Linked DNA regions of Homo sapiens: region 1 is linked to region 2. Evidence: promoter capture Hi-C in human tissues and cell types (Jung and others, 2019). All regions are on one chromosome and are shown on one strand. Each heading gives the region's core, a stretch centred on a gene start or on the middle of the fragment in contact. The rest is flanking DNA. Distances are from core to core; before and after follow the strand shown. Region 1 overlaps FGF12 (fibroblast growth factor 12). Region 2 holds the start of CCDC50 (coiled-coil domain containing 50).

Region 1 (3,020 bases), core at 438-2,937, 1.1 Mb after region 2:
CATATGTGTACATGTGCAGGTATACATGTATGTGTGTGTGTGCATGTGTATGTACCTGGCAGAGAGGAAAGGAAAGAAGTGTTCTGTGATCAATCTTCATATGGAGTTGACTTTTTTGAGTTCTTGTTTGTTCTCCTTGATTACAGTTAGAGTCTTTAGGAATAAAATTGGGTCATAGAGTTGATTTTAAAGTACCATAAGGAGCAGTTGTGCTACTCGAAATACAGTTTGACTCTGTCGTGGTTGCAAAGCCAATCTCAAAGCATTTCCCCCAGAATGCTGTTTATTAGTTTAAAACCCCTATGATCAGGATATTAAAAAAAAAACAAGAAAGATAATCTAACTCATGATGGCTTCTCTATCCATTTAATTGCGGTTAGCAGTACATTTATCCAACCGCTTTTCAGGTCTATGCGCATGTTTCTCAGTGGTGCTGTCTTAGCCATTGAAGGGTTTAAAGAGCACTGAAGAAAAAGTCAGGAGAACTGGCCTTAGGTCCCATTTTCACAATTATTCCATCTTTGACACTTTGGACAACTCCAGCTCCTATCCCCGTCTTGGTCTCATTTTCCTCAACAGGGTAAGTGATTTTACAGCTGTTCCAATGTTCTATGATCTATAAAGCATAAAGTCTCTATTTTCTACTTTAAACCACAAATCAGAAAGCTTTAGAAGAACATTCCAGGCTGTGAAGTTGGGGGAATATTCTGGGTTTATCTCAGATCTTTTTCATTTAGTGCAACACTAGTTTTTTTTAAAAAAACTTCATTTCTTTGACTGCTAAATGAAGAATGAATTTGTAATTACTGCTAAAGGAAATACAGTGAAAATTTTAATTCTGAAATTGAAAACTACTTAAAAGAGACAGGAGAGCTTAGCAAAAGCCTCTAAAAGAGCCTGGCCATCTGGCTTCTTACTCCCAGGACTGCTCACTGTGATAATCCCCAGGCTTGGTGATGTCCTGAACTTGCAAGTTTCGGGAAGTTGGCGATCCATTTTGACCATGTGGTATCACAGATAATGTACTGGAAACCCAATTTCTGGTCCCAGAACAGCATTGTTCGGCCAGCAGGCTATACATGAGCCTCCTGGGCCTTACTTTTCTCCTCTGTACCTAGTAACTTCCTTAGGTCTTTCTCTCTCAGAAATTCTGTTTTCTAAAAGGCAAGTTACTCTGAAGGATGAAACAGCTTTGCTTTTCTGATAAAGTATATCAAGCCTAAATCAAAATAAGCATTTCTTCTCCTGTTCTTCTGTTTGGGCTCTGAGGATACAATCTGCTTCTGTCGTTTTCCCAGTGCAGAGTAATTTTCAATGTGTTACCATGCTAAGCCTTGTTATCACATTTTCAGAAGCATAAATGATAAATAACATTTGCTTAACCAGCTTTTACAATTCCCTGGCATTTTTAAAAAGAATATTTATTTTGAAGAATATTTTTTGAAACAACACAATTTGAGGAAACCAACACACCACAGCGAATACGTCTACTTCTCTCAGTTAGCCCAAGCAATTCTCAAAGTTTTCTCCTCGTCTTTATTGAACACTCACTTCACGCCAGGCCTCGTGCTAGGGGTTGGAGCTCTGAAGGAAACAGAAGAACGTGACCTCAGGACAATACTGTCATAGTCCATGTCTACAAGAAGCTCACTCCCATTGTAGATGGTGATCCCACTTAAATTAATAAAGATGAGAAGCCTCCTGGGCCAAAAATTAGATACTTTGTTGTAGAGCAGTACCATACCAGAGAGGAACATTCACCTTCCTTTGCGCCTAGCTTTGCCTCTGGGATACAGTGGTACTGAGAATCAGAGCTTACTGCTGTAAATTAGGGGTTCTCAAATAGTCATACACAGCAGAATCAAGTGGAGGGCTTAGTAAAACACGGATCGCTGGGCCTTACTTCCAGATTTCCAATTCAAAAGGAGTCAAGAGATTTTAGTACTAGTGAGCTCCTGGGTGCTGCCGATGCTGCTGATGTGGGGCCCACAATTGGAAAACCTCCGTTGTAAACGAGCAATCATGAATAAGCTAATTTGTCTGGAGCAAGGCTTTGACTTCGGTAGTTTTACAAAGCTCTCCAGGTGTTTCTAAGGTGTATCCAGGCTGGACAGCCACTGGGTTAGATTGCACAATGTCAGTTTCCCAAAATAACTGCATGTTCAAGATACTTTTAAGATTATACATGTTTCTGAGTAGCCTGTCTGATCAACAATTTCTTGCCCTGTAGATTGAAATTCTAGGTGAAGTTATGCTTAAGGTGGCATTCCCAGAAAAAACTAGAACGCATCCCCCTTTTTTGGGTAGCTGACTATACGCAAACTGCTGTCTCCCAACACAGACTGTGTTCCAGTGCTGGAGAACACAAAGGTGGGAAGATATGAAAGGACACAAAGATTAATGTATGAAATTATCTACGTAAAAAATTTCTTGAGTGCTCACTCTATGCTGTGCCAAGAAACTCAGGCTTTTCTTTCTAAAAATTAGAGGCTATGGAGGTGTTTAAGGACGAGAGTGATATAGTCTGAATTGCATCTTATGAATGAATAGTGTATAATTCCTTAAAAGGTCTTGCAGCAAGAGAAGCCGGGTAGAAGGGGCATAGTTAAGTAAGCACAGGGGAGCAGGGAGAACTCTGGGAAAATGGAGGAAATAAAAGGCTAGCGACTAGAGGAAGTGCCTGTGATAGGATTGCAGACTACAAAAAAATACTAACAATACCACTCTCAAAATCATTAGGAAAATAGAAATACTATCATCTTTGTTAAAGAAGTTCATCAAATACAAGGAGCTAACAAAAAATGCTATTTGTGTAGAGAACTAGTTGAGAGGTAGCATCGCCTTTTAGCCAGAAGGTTTAAGGAAGTCAGTGGAATGTGTAAGAGTGAGCAAACTGGCCAGGCGCCGTGGCTCACGCCTGTAATCCCAGCACTTTGGGAGGTCAAGGTGGGTGGATCACAAGGTCAGGAGTTCAAAACCAGCCTGACCAAGATGGTGAAACCCCATCTCTACTAAAAATA
Region 2 (2,904 bases), core at 405-2,904:
GGCTTGGTAGAGAAGTAGAAACGATAGATTTGGGGAGGGAAACAGAAAATACTGCTGTTATAAATATTCTCTAGACCACAGGAAGTTAAAAAAAATTACTAGATTACAGGACAATTAAAAAATTCCCATAAATCTACCTTTCTAATACCACTTCCTTCTTATTCCCACATTTAACCTGCTGAGTGTTATCTCTGCCTAGCACTGGGGTGGGTAAACTTTTCCTGTAAAGCATATTTTAGACTTTGAGGCTTAAGAGGCAAGGTCGAAAATATTATGTCCTATTTATGTAGTGATTTGAAATGTAATTATTTGAACATATAAAAAACAGTCATTCAAATTCAGTGGCGTAGATTTGGCCTGTGGGCTATACTTTGCTACCCTCTGGCCTTGAAAGTCTTCTAAATTTTTGCTAGCCTAAAATCCACCTACTTTTCAATGTCAAGTTCAAATAAAACCTCCCCTACGTGGCCTCTCATACTGGGACTCTGAGCTGTGAGTGACAGAAAATCAACTATTACTAGCTTAAGCAAAACTGAGGATAAGTTGAGAGTTTGCGGGTTGTAGATCCCAGAATCCAGGAGTTGCTGAAATGCCAGCTGCTCTGGGGATATCCTGCTTTGCTACTGTGGTAACATCAGAACATGCCCTCTTCATCTCCCTTTCTCTTCTCTTTGCTTCTGTCTTCAGTTTGGCCTCATCATCTCCTAGAGGCAGATCTTTTCCACAAGAAACAGAATATGTAACTCTTTATGTACCCAGGAAAGTATTCTGTTTGACCTGTCTTGGTCACCCAGCCACCCTTCGATGAACCCATGTCGGTGGAGGAAGGGGGAAGAGTGATGGGGTAGTCTCGAGGTTCAGACATGGCACACGTTTGGGAGAGAAGCTCACCTCTGAGGAGTGGGGAAAGAGGCAGTTTCCCAAAAGGAGGATGCATTCTGTTGCCAGGAGATGAAACAGGAGAGGTTGTCTATTTTAGAGAGATAGAAATGTCACAATTACAATCCAATGTGTGCAGCGCTATAACAGAGATAAGTCTGACGCCTCGTTATCACCCACAGTACCTAACATCACACTTGGTAGACACATTCATGCGATTTTGATGAATGAATGACTCAGTTCTCCCAGCTGATTGTGTACACACTCTACTCCAAACTGGCCCAGAATTTTATCAGCTGCTCTTCATTCTGTACGTTGTATTTGGGGTTTTTATGGCCATCTACCATCTCTCCTCTAATTCCGGGTGCAAAAAGAGTGTATGAGAGAGAGGCAAGCATGCAGTAAACATCCTGTGTTAATCTCAATCCCAGAACCAGACCACAGAATGCTGACTACACCGCTCACGGGAAAGACTATGTTTTAGGTGACCCGTGTGGCCTTTTTGTTGAGGCCTTTAGGATACAAGGCCCCCACCTAAAGACGCGACCCTCCCGTAGGAGGGGGGCAGGGCCCGGGGGCGGGAGCACAGCGGGGCCCCAGCCTCAGGCGGCGCGTCACTGAGCACAAAGGAGACAACAGCGAGGCGGCAGCGGGCGCTGATCTTCGCTCGCCAGCCACTCGCAATTGCGGTTACAGACCTGCAGCTCCCCCTCCCCCAGCCGGCCCGCCCGCCTTTCTGTCTCCTCTCTCCCTCCGTACTGGACGGCCCCGGTCCATTTCCGGGCTCCGGATATTTGGTATCGATTGGGGCCGGGGACGCGGAGCAGGTGGCCGCGGCGGGGCAGCTGGGCCGCCAGCTTGGTGCCTCGGGGACCGTCTCCCGCTGCTTTGGTCACCAGCCCCTGCCCGCCCGACCCGCTCCGTTCTCCGGCCTGCGAGCCCTGCCGGCCGGACTTTGCGCCGCGTCCGGCGCTGCTGCTGCGCTCGGGGCCCCGCTCGGCGCCGGCGGTGACCGGGAAGCCCGCGTTAAAGGGGCAACCGGGACCCTGGCCCGGTATGGCTGAAGTCAGCATCGACCAGTCCAAGCTGCCTGGAGTCAAGGAAGGTAAGGGCCCCGGAGGGAGAGCGCGCGGGACCCTCCCCTCTCCCAGCCCGAGGTTCTCTCAGGTCAGGGGCGTTGCCATTTCGGCTCCCGCGGCCCTCGCCCGGTGCCCGCCCTGCGTTGGCCTTGCCCGGACGTGAAAGGAATTGAATTCAGGTTCTAGTGTGGGACGTTGGGCAAGTCTCCGACGTTCCAAGCCCGTTTTTTCTCAAGGGGGTGGTTGGGGGGGGGGGGGGCTAGCAGCAGCCCCAGCAAGTAGGTGGCTGTGCCCGTGTTCTCGTGCATCGCAAAGCCTCAGTGGACGCTGAGAGCCGGGTGAATCTGACTTACTCCGCTTCTAAAAAATCGAGGCCCAGCCTGGCTGGCTTGAAGGCTGGGAAGTGGAGAGGGGTTGACATTCAGTTCCGTGTGGAGCCTTTGTTTTGAAACATGACTCTTTCCCTCCTTCTCTCCCTACTTTTCCTAGGCCGGCGTCTGGCTGGCTGACTTTCCCACCTTCCTCAAGGTTTAAAAGTTTAGTCTTGGCTGTGTTCTGCGCGGGCGGGAAGCCACTATAAGCATTTTCTTACAAACAAAACACACACACACACACACACACACACACACACAATAGTGAGCGAGGGGAACAGGGGACTGATGGCCTTGTCATTGCTTTTTGTACCAATGTCCAGGAAAGTAGAGATTAGTACTGACCTGGCTTTAGCTGACAGCAAGTAGCCTTTTGACTTCCCTTCTCTTGTTTTTCCACTAGCTGCCTCAGGACCTAGCTTTTTTTTGCTGAGATCTTAGGTGCTGGATCGCCTTATGCCTTGAGTTATCTTTGTTTATTCTTTGGTCCTAGGAAGCATAGACGTTCCAGAGTGCTGACGCAGACCCCTAAGTTCCAAGGGCTTTGCAAAATCGGCTTCTGTTGTGAATGTCAT

What was found. Contacts are between HindIII fragments. The study calls those that stand out against the background at their distance.
Region 1: a fragment that was not itself captured here is called in contact with the fragment with the promoter of CCDC50 in region 2 in 1 of the 25 tissues and cell types used here (dorsolateral prefrontal cortex).

The regions. Positions count from the first base shown.
Region 1 is chr3:192,434,516-192,437,535 of GRCh38, forward strand. All of the region lies in intron 2 of FGF12 (fibroblast growth factor 12), which reads right to left. Among named protein-coding and RNA genes, the nearest start is that of FGF12-AS2, 79 kb to the right of the region's middle. The HindIII fragment of the contact is 4,564 bases long and covers 1-3,020 here.
Region 2 is chr3:191,327,740-191,330,643 of GRCh38, forward strand. CCDC50 (coiled-coil domain containing 50) reads left to right here and starts at 1,655. Exons shown (of 12, transcript NM_178335.3): 1 at 1,655-1,984. The coding sequence starts at 1,936. It overlaps UTS2B (urotensin 2B), which reads right to left and starts at 2,787. Exons shown (of 9, transcript NM_198152.5): 1 at 2,675-2,787; 2 at 892-970. RefSeq lists enhancers at 1,222-1,823, 1,824-2,424 and silencers at 1,351-1,430, 1,531-1,810. The HindIII fragment of the contact is 10,513 bases long and covers 1-2,904 here.